Linked DNA regions of Homo sapiens: region 2 is linked to region 1. Evidence: promoter capture Hi-C in 16 types of primary human blood cells and fetal thymus (Javierre and others, 2016). All regions are on one chromosome and are shown on one strand. Each heading gives the region's core, a stretch centred on a gene start or on the middle of the fragment in contact. The rest is flanking DNA. Distances are from core to core; before and after follow the strand shown.

The links. The method cuts DNA at HindIII sites, captures the fragments that hold promoters and counts their contacts. A CHiCAGO score of 5 or more calls a contact.
Region 2: the fragment with the promoter of CTBP1 here is called in contact with the fragment with the promoter of NSD2 in region 1 in 1 of 17 cell types (naive CD4 T cells); the score reaches 5.2 in naive CD4 T cells.

The regions. Positions count from the first base shown.
Region 1 is chr4:1,869,359-1,874,357 of GRCh38, forward strand. NSD2 (nuclear receptor binding SET domain protein 2) reads left to right here and starts at 2,035. Exons shown (of 22, transcript NM_001042424.3): 1 at 2,035-2,184. RefSeq lists an enhancer at 964-1,465 and silencers at 1,199-1,458, 1,489-1,718, 1,769-2,468. The HindIII fragment of the contact is 4,701 bases long and covers 1-3,850 here.
Region 2 is chr4:1,245,381-1,250,379 of GRCh38, forward strand. CTBP1 (C-terminal binding protein 1) reads right to left here and starts at 3,750. Exons shown (of 10, transcript NM_001012614.2): 1 at 3,536-3,750. It overlaps CTBP1-DT (CTBP1 divergent transcript), which reads left to right and starts at 4,060. Exons shown (of 2, transcript NR_033339.1): 1 at 4,060-4,092; 2 at 4,731-4,999. RefSeq lists silencers at 2,639-3,358, 3,529-4,458 and enhancers at 4,829-4,878, 4,939-4,999. The HindIII fragment of the contact is 9,350 bases long and covers 1-4,999 here.

The DNA of each region.
Region 1 (4,999 bases), core at 785-3,284:
TTATTTTTTGAGACAGTCTTGCTCTGTCACCCAGGCTAGAGTGCAGTGGCATGATCTCGGCTCACTGCAACCTCCACTTCCCGGGTTCAAGTGATTCTCCTGCCTCAGCCTCCTGAATAGTTGCGATTACAGATGCCCGTCACTATGCCTGGCTAATTTTTGTATTTTTTTTTAGTAGAGACGGGGTTTCACCATGTTAGCCAGGCTGGTCTCGAACTCCTGACCTCAGGCGATCCACCTGTCTCGGCCTTCCAAAGTGCTTGTATTAAAGGTGTGAGCCACCATGCCTGGCACTGGCCGTAATTTTAAAAATTCATTTATTTGTTTGGTGATAGAGACGAGGTCTTGCTATGTTGCCCAGTCTGGTCTCCAACTCCTGGGCTCAAGCAATCCTTTCACTTTGGCCTCCCACAGTGCTGGCTCACACTTCTCACAGGTGTGAGCCACTGGCCTTGGCTCCATTTTGAATTAATTTTTGTTAAGGGTGTAAAGTCTGTGTCTAGCCTGATTTTTTTTTGCATGTGGACATCCAGTTGTTCCAGCACCATTTGTCGAAAAGACTGTCTTTTCTCCATTCCATTTCCTAGAGTCAAGCTCAGCTGACTCCATTATGTGGTCTATATCCGGGTTCTCTATTCTGTTCATGGATCTATTTGTGTATTTTTCCACCAGTACCACAATGTCTCAATTACTGTAGCCTTATAGTAAGTCTTGCAGCAACCCTTGTTTTTTTGGGGGGGCCACAACTCAACCCATACAGGGGCCCAGCACCTGTGAAGGGACAGCAGCGGAGGCGGCGCGGGAGAGGAAGAGGAGGTGAACTGTGGCCACTCCTTGGTGGCTGGAGGTGGGTCCGGGGAGGCAGGACCTGGGCTGAGGTGTCGTTCTATAGCCCGGGTAGCGCACTTTCACAAAGCTCTCCTTGACCAAACTCTCGCCAGGCTCCCCTGGGCCCGCTTCTCAGCGAGGGCTCAAGCTGGGCCTGTAAAGCTCGAGCAGACACTAAGGCTCAAGGCCGAAGGTGTTCCCGGCTCCCTGAACCTGCGTGACAGAAAACCCAAGGCCGCCGGCTCCGGCAGCACCTGGAGGCAGGAGCCGAACTTCCATGGGCGGCGGGCAGCAAATCACACCGGCTTCAACCGCCCGGCCCGCCCACTTTTTGCAGCGTCTGACTTCCCCGCTCGCCCGCGCCGCTTCCTCCTCCTCCCTGTGCCGCACGCAGTCGCCCGCGCCACCCCCTGAAGCCCGGCTCTACCGCAGCGGCGCTGGGGTAGCGCCCCTGGACCAGGCGTCCTCCCCTCGCGAGCGGTCCTCCCGCAGCCGCGCCCAGCTCCGGGTCGGACCCTCGCCCGGGGGACTCGTTCACGCCCTGCGGCCGTTAGGCGGGAAGAGCACGACGCCCTGCCCTGCCCCGTCGTGGCGTCTGACCCTCTCCGCCACGTCTGTTCTGAGGCTCCGGGCCCGCCACGGCGGGGCCTCTGCGGCGGTTTCCCCACCCGTCCCCGCACTGCCGCTCCGCGAGGCGGACGCCGCTAGCAGCCTCCCGCGGGCCCCAGGCCCCGCGCCCCTCTCACGGGACAGGAGCTTGGGGACCCGCGCGGGCGGGCCGCGCGCCCAACGCCAGCCTCCGCGGCCGCGCGCCCACGGCTCGGGGGCGCCGGCTCCGGACGGTGATTGGGCGCGGATCGTGACGTCACTGAGCGCGGCGCCCGCGGGCGCCGGGTCTGGGCCGGGTGCGCGCCGCCGAGTAGCGGGAGCAGGGCGCGCGCCCGGCGCTACTCTGAGGCGGCTCGCGGGGCCCGCGGCCCGGCCCTCCCGGCGCTGCCAGCCCCGCCCGCCCGCGCGGCCCCCACCCGCCGCGTGCCTGCCCGCCCCGCCCGTGCGCGGCCCCGGCGCGGATTTGAAAAGCCCGGTCCGCGGGCCCCGCGAGCGCGGCAGCCAATCAGCGGCGCGCACTTTTCCCGCGGCTTCTGCGAGGCGGCGGCGGCCCCGGCTGCGGCGGCGGCGGCGGGCGGGAGGCGCGGGGGCGGGGTCGGCGCCGCGCGCGAGAGCCTCGGCCTGGCCGCGCTGCGCCCGCCGCCGCCGCCGCCCCCTCCCCGCCTGGGCCCTACCGCCGCACGGCCCCGGCCCCCTCCCAGCCTGCCGCTCCGGAGAGCCGCCCGCCGAGGATGCGACGCACCGCAGGTCACTGGGGCGCCCGCCCAACAGTCGCGGGCCGCCAACCGCCGGGGCTGGGGCCGGGAGGCCGGGCTGTGGGAGGCCTGAGGGGCGGCGGGGAGGACCGCGGAGGCCTGAGGGGGCGGGAGCGCCGGGAGGAGTGGGGGCACTGAGGAGGCCTGAGGGGCCGGCTCAGGGGCTGGGGGACCGGGAGGCCGGGCGGCCTGAGAGGGTCGTGGGGACCGCGAGGACCGCGGAGGCCTGAGGGCCGGCGGGAGGACCGGGCGGACCGCGGAGGCCGGGACGAGTCCGGGCAGGGGAGGGGCGGCGGCCTGCGGGCGGCGGCGGCTAACGGGGCCGGGCGGGCGGGCGCGGCCATGTTGGGCCCGGCCGGGCCCTGCGGCTGCACCTGTGCCCGGCCCGGCCGAGGCGGCCGCCTTTGTTCCCGCGGCGCCGAGCGGGTCGGGCCGGCCTTTGTGCGGCGCCCCCGGTCCGGGGCGGCCGCGGTGGGAGGGGCAGGTTGGGGTCCCGGGGCCGGCGCCGGGGCCAGGGGTCGGGCCGAGGGTCGCTTTTTGTTTGCAGGCGGTGTCTGGCGTTGACACTCGCGGCGCCCGGGCGTTGGTCAGCGCGGACGCTCCCCCGGGAAGCCGGGCCGCGGTCCGGCCCTTGGCAGGTGGAGGCGGGGGTGAGCCGGGTGTGGGTACCCTGCTGGGGGGCTGCGCGCCCTCGGCGTCCGGGCCTCCGCCTGGGATGTTCCCCTCGCCCCAGGATGCAGATTGATAGTCCTTGAAGCCTCAGTGCATGAGATGGGACCTGGCGACTTAATGGCTGGTTTTGCTCCACTCACAGGAACCGTGGTTTAAAATCTCGGCGTTTAAAAAATGCTGGTCTTAAGTTTCGGTAGAAATAAAATGGATGAGGGTATTGTATAGGACCCATTGCAGCACGAATCTTTCTGTGCCCACGATGGGCTTTGACATTCAAGTGGAAACATAGTATCAAAACTGATGTGGTGACGTTAATCGTTTTTAGGTAGATAACGTGTATTTTGTGTGTGTGTGTGTGTGTGTGTGTGTGAGAGAGAGAGAGAGAGAGAGAGAGAGAGAGAGAGAGAGAGAGAGCGCGCAGACCCTGTGAAGACAAGACTAATTGGATAAAGTTCAGGCCTGGCTCAGGAGCAGCTCTTCAGTGCTACCCACCTGCTTCACAGACTTTCAAGCCTTGATTTTTAAATGAGTTAAACGCCAGCATCACGCATGGGTTATATTCACTCTATTTTGTGTATTTCAAATATCAACGTGGAAAATAACTTAGGAGCCATCCCATTTATGAACTTGGGACTTAAACTTTTTAATTTTCCCAAAATGTTTTAAGTGCCCTAGTTACGTATTTAAATGTGATGAGAACAACAATATTTTAAAGAGCAGAACGCCAACAACATAAAGCAAACAAGTTCTGTGAGCACAGCCTTTCCTTGTGTACTTGATGTGTGCTCTCATTCCCCACAACTGATGGTGGTTCAAATCTAAACTGCCAAATGGAGATGAAGAGGACTCATGCTTTAAGCACGATTACTTTGAGTCATTTCCTTTTCTTTCCTTCCATTTTCTCAGCCACCCAAACCCAGCAACCTTCAGTTTTGGGCTGATGGTTGGTAGAGTGAGGACTTACTGCACAATTTTGAGTTTGTGTAAGCTTTTGTGAAGAGCTCTGATCTCAGTACAAAAATTGTCCTCTCCTGACTGCATTAATACCAGAGTCTGGCCTCTGATTATAACAGTAAAGATTTTATTTTAAGAGTATGAGGTAATTAACTGAGAATTTGAAAGAATGATGGACAATTTATCGTATCTATTCGTATGTAACATATAAACTAATATAACTTTTGGAGCCATGCACAACAAAATTATAAGGTCAGCAGGCTGCAGGTGCGACTTGCTTTGTTTCTATGCAATCAGCTTATCCAGGGCTTTCAAACCAGTACTTGCTGAAGTGTGCGGACCCAAATGAAGCATTAAGCAGAGTCCTAGAATGAGTCAGGAAGATAATCTGAATAGGTAGAAGACAACCCACTCCTCCTAATCCTGTGGGGCTTACATGGGTACAGCCTTCTGCCTATTCAGATTATCTTCTCCTTCTAAAAGTAATCAAATCTTACAAAGTTTACTCACATGGCAGAATGTGAACTTTTTTTGTTTGAAGATTCAGTGTAAAACATGCAAAAGTAGCTGGAATTAGGCTTACTAAGCTACAGGATTCTCTTTACCAAGCAAGAACTTAAAAGAAGTGCTAAGATGGTGCTGAAGTTCATAATCCAAACGTATTTTGTCCTGTGCTATTTATTTATTTTTAGAGACAGGGTCTCTCTATGTGGCCCAGGCTTGAGTGCAGTGGCTATTTCAGAGGAGAGCAATCATGGTGCACTTCAGTCCCAAACTCTTGGGCTCAAGTGATTCTCCCGCCTCAGCCTCCTGAGTAGTGGTTACTACAGGCACACTCAGCCTTCCTGGCTCTGCCCTGTCCTTTTTAGCTGGGCAAGTGGGCAAATAACCTTTCTAAGTAAATAATTAATCAGCAGCAACAGAAGCCATAAGGCTTTTTACTCATATATTCTGATCTACGTGTTTGGTTTTGCCTTTTTGTTTTTGTTTTGTTTTTTGGTGGGCTGCTCATGGCCATAGAATGCATACAACTTTGGATAAGCATTTTAGTCTTCTGAGCCTCAGTCTCTTGTTTTGCTTGATTGTAGTAAGTGTGACCTTGTTCTCCAAATACGTGGTACCATGTCCTGACTCCAGGCCTTTGTGTGGGCTGTTCTTGGGTGTGGACTACCTGCCACCTG
Region 2 (4,999 bases), core at 2,500-4,999, 620 kb before region 1:
TTCCTGGCTCCTACCACATGTGGGGTATCAGGGCTACACCTTCCTCCCCTTCCCAACACAGTCTACACACGACACCACTGGAGAGACAGCCTCGGATGCCTCTGAGGCTCCTGCCAGCCACGCAGACAGGGCAGCCCAGGAGCCCCCACACCACAGACGGGCGGCAGGTCAGGGTGGCACAGGAGGGCACGGTGACACGGGCGGCAGGGAAGAGTGGCACGGGAGGGCAGGGTGACACGGGCGGCATAGCAGAGTGGCATGGACGGGCAGGGTGACACGGGCGGCAGGGCAGGGTGGCACGGGTGGGCAGGGTGGCACGGGCGGGCAGGATGGCACAAGCAGGTCAGGGTGGCACGTGTGGGTAGGGTAGCACGGGTAGGCAGGGTGGCTTGGGCCACACCAGGCCTGGAGAGTTAACGGCGGTGCCAGGGGAGGGTGCAGAAGGGGCCTGGTCCCAACACCGCCCACACCTCTCTCAGGGCCATAGCCCCAACGCCTCCCCAACCAAACCAACTGGGCTTCCCTCAGGGCCATCCTCACTCTCCTTCAACACCCGTGAGAACTGGTACCACCTGGGGCCGCCCAGAGAGACAACTCAAGGTTAACGTTTGGCTCGGCAAAGAGCCACCAAGAAATTTCTGGCTTCACAGGGAAAAAAACGAACATTTCCTTGTGGGAGATACCACATGGAATGTGTGGCCGGAGGGGCTTCTGGAAACGATGGTCAGTGACGCAGGTGGCACCTTGTGGGTTACCACGACCCAGTGCGGGGGAGAGCAGTGGGCTCCGGCCACTGCAGCTGACAATGGAGGACCCGGGGGTCCAGACACTCCCGGCACAGAGCTCTTACCCACAACTACCAACATCCAGCGACCACCAGAGGACCCTGGCGCTCCACCCGGCGCTCCGACCAGCGTTCCCTTGGGCGATGCAGTTCAACCACAGAACCCGTATGACACTGCCTGCTGCCTCTACCACCTCCTGGCCACCCCTGGGCCCTGGGCCAGGCCTGCACCGTCAGCACCACCTGGATGGAGCCCTCTCCAGCCCCCAGTGGAGTGGGAAACATTAAGTCCTTCTACAAGGAGAGTCAACCGGGGTAAACACCTCACAGGGCACACACCTTTGACTTGGGCACTGCATGGGGAGCACCAGGGCACAGCCGGGCACAAAGTGCTGCCTGAAGAGTTCTCAGCAACACTAGTGGTGCCAGCCACACGCCTCTTGGCTCAGTGACACCACCGTCAGCTCAGACCAGGTCACATTCTGGGGGTACTGGCCGCAGGAAGTTGAGAGGGCAAGTGACAGTCAGAGGAGAAAAACCAGAAAAACTGCCAGGCTGGTGGGGAACCAGGTGTGGCTTGACGGCCACCTCTAAGCCCCGAGGGAAGAGACTGGGCCTCTCGAGCCTGGGGCCCGTTTCCTGGAGAGCATGACTACTTCTGTCCAGGGTTCCTCCAGAAAAAATTTATTAACAGAATGATGGTTAACAGTTGCTGTCTGCTTACACTACAAATGTCCAAAGAGTGGGGGGCTCCCAGCCCTTGGGGGAGGCAGACAGGACGAGCCAGCACTTCCAATCCCACCAGGACATGGCAGGGGGCCGGCTCTGCGCCAAGCCCACAGGACTGGACCAAGGCTCGTCCCACTCATCAGAGGGACAGGACCAGCCCACAGTCCTGTGCACCCCGGGCCAAGCCTCTCCTCCCCCACTGCCACGTTCTCAGGTTAATGACAAGCGAGTAAAAGGGAAGATCCTACTCGCTGACATCCCCAACCACACGCCCACCTCTCAGAACTAACAGCTGCCCTGGTCAAGGCTGACAGGAAGAAGTGCATGTTGGGGACATGGCAGACACCCCAAAAATGGCCGGGCAGGCGGACGAGGCACCCCCAGGAGTGACCAGATGCCACCCCCAGTGCGTGTCCCTCCCAGAGCTCTGCAGAGGACGCCTGTATGGAAGCAGGTGCTCAAAGATGGGCAACAGAATCACAGAGAGCAAAAGGCGTCTGCGGAGCCGACAGCCCCAACCAGGAGCCAAACCCAGACCCCAGAGGGAGGTGGCCAGGCCCGGGCAGGCAGGGGAGACCTGGGAGGCCGGGTGCTGAGGCCCAGGGCAGAGCCACGCCCTACAAAGTTCCAGGACACAGAAAGGGGGACCCCCAAACCGCAGCTGTCATCCTCAGCTGCAACGGCAAATAGTTACCCCACGGTTCTCCCCCAACCCTGCCCCAAGCTGCAGACGGGTACACAGACGCGCAAAGGCCACGCGCTAGGAGCTCAGCGAGGACGGCCGCGGTGCGGGCCCAGCCGCCAGCGCCGTTTTCTTCCCGAGGGACGTGTGCTCCCTGCCGCGCTCCTACAGAAACGGTGGAGAGGCCGGGGAGGGGGGGGGGGCTCGGGCTCAACGGAACACCCTGCGCACCCGCCGCCTCGGCCCTAGCTCCAGGCCCTCTTGCCCCAACTCTCAGGGTTTCACCTCCCCACTCAGGGCACCGGGAAGGGCGCGACCGCCTTCCCTTTTCCCCACTGGAAGGGAATTCTGTCCCGGCAATCACGGAGACGACAGCAAAAGGGATCTGGCCCAGGCCGGGCTTCCAGACACCGGCGCCCTTGGAGGCCGCCAGAGAACGCTCCAGTCTCGGCCCGGGGCTCAGGCGCACGGACTCTGCCTTTGCAGCCGGGTCGAGGGAAAGAGAGGCTCCGCGCAGCGGCTCGGGCCGGCCCAGGACGCGGGCGCTGCAAGATGGCGATGGTGGCAAGCCCGGCGCCCGCCCGTGCTCCCTGCTTCCGCGGCCGCAGCCCGCGAGGAAGGCGCCCCGGGACCTGGGCGGGCCCAGGCAAGGGCAGGTGGGGGCGCTGGGCCGGTCCGGGACCTCGCGGAGTTCGCGGGAACGGAGACCCCGGGCCCTCCCGCGTCACCGCCGGGGGCTGCGCTTTGGGCCCGGTCTGAGGGCAGCGGCCTCCTCCACGGTCATACCCGGCACCCGCGCCCCGTCCCCTTCCCCCACAGCGCGCGGCCACGGTCGCCGGCGGCCTCCCCGCGGGAGGCGCGCTCCCGCGAGTGGCCCGGGAGCGCGCGCCCCAGGACACCCCGAGCTGCGCACGGCTCCCGCCCCATCCCGGCCCCGCAGGCCCAGCCACGGGGTCATGACCGGGGACGGGGTAGCGGCCGGGGATCGGGACCCGGGGTGCCGTCCCGGGTCCGACGGGGCTGGGGTCGGTGGAGCTGGGGGTCCGGCGGGGCAGCCCAGAGGCCCACAGGCCCTTTTGTGTCACCTGCACGGGCCGCGGGCGGGGAGAGCAGACTGCGGCGCTCGCGCACACGCAGCGGCCCGCGCATGCGCAAGACCCTTCCCGCGGTCCCGCCCCCGACCGCGGCCACGCGCGGACGCCGGCGCGCACGCGCACTCGCACACAAAGCCGGCGGCCCGCGGGCGCGCGCTCGGTCCGCCCCCGCGCCCCCCGCCCGCGCGGCACCCGCCCCGCCCCGCCCCCGCCCGCGGCCGGAAACGCGCGCGCGCGCGGCCTTACCAAGCGGCAGGCCCTTGTTGAGCAAGTGCGAGCTGCCCATCGAGAGGCGCGAGCGGCCGCGGGCCCCGACCACTCCGGCGCGCTGCGCCGCCGCGAGCCCGGCGCGTGGGGCGGCCTCGGCGCCGTCCGCTGCTCCGCCCGCCCGCCTGCGCCTGGCCGCCGCCGTGCCGAGTCTCCGCCGCGCCGCTGAGCCGCGCTCCGACGACCGCGCGGGCGGGGACACGGCGGCGCGCGCGGGCGGGGCCTCGCGGTTGGTCTCCTGGTTCCCAGCGCGGGCGGCGCACGGACTCACGCGGGCGGCTCAGGGCCCGCCCGGCCGGGACGCGGCTGCGGGGCGGGGCGGGGCGGGAGCCTGGCGGGAAGCTCGCGGGGCTGCAGCCCGGCGGAGGCCCCGGGCCTGGTGTTCCGCACGTTCTAAACCGCCTGTCCCCGAGGAAGTCGGGCAGGGTCGGGCCGGACTCAGCGCCGCTGGCGGGAGCGCCGTCCGCCCCGAGGACCCTGCGGGCCCGGAAGCCGAGACAGGGCCGCCCACGTCAGCGCCTGGCGCGGGCCCGAACGTAAATGGCGCTCCTCCGCGCCGCAGCCGCAGCCGCCCCGCTCCCTTCCCGCTCCGCCAGCTGCCGCCCTCCCGCGCTCGCTTCTCGCCCCGCGGCCTGGCCCGTGCGCCTCCGAGGCTGGCCAGGGGCACCGAGGCCGCGGGCCCCCCATCGCCCCCACCCGAGCCCTGATTTACCGTCCGAGAGCCGGCGGCACATGGGACCCCGAGAGGAGAAGCGCGCCTGCCCCAGTGCGTCCCCAGGCGGGGGAGCCCCGACTCCTGGAGGGACCGCGTCCTGCCCGGCCCGGGAAGTTCAGGGCTGGAGAACCCCTTCCCCGACCCCATTTCTCTTTTAACAAGAGTAGGGTTTGTAGCTAACCAACGTCCTGACAGCTCAGCTCTGCTTTCCCTTTAAGCATTAATATCAAAGCCCTGCCTGCTACCGGTGAAGCCCCGACCCGGGAGGGCCCGAAAGTCCCTTCAGGGAGAGGCCGCACTGGGCCTGCTCACCCAGGGGCTGCCCCTGCAGACTCTCCCGAGGGGCCCAGGGATATTCCTCGCGCCGCGAGTGGACGCTTCCATCCACCCCATGGGGAGGGCCTCTGCGCGTGGCTACTCTGAGCCCTCTGGAATGCCGAGATAGTTGCATAATTTCAGAAACCACGGCATGGAGACGGAATGATGCAGACTCCTATCCGCGAGATACCTGCTGTAATTTCGCTGTGGTTCGTGAGGACGCGTCCTGGGCTGCCCTGAGAAGCCTACGTCTCCCCTTCGAGGCCCGGGAAGACCTCCAACCCCGCTGACAATGCTGGGCCCTCAGCCAGACCTGCCCTGCGTGCCACGTTCTGTTCTAAGATCGGGCTGCCGAGCTGTGGCCTGGAGGAAACCTGGCAGGTGTCACCAGAGCTTTGGGGAGGGTGAGG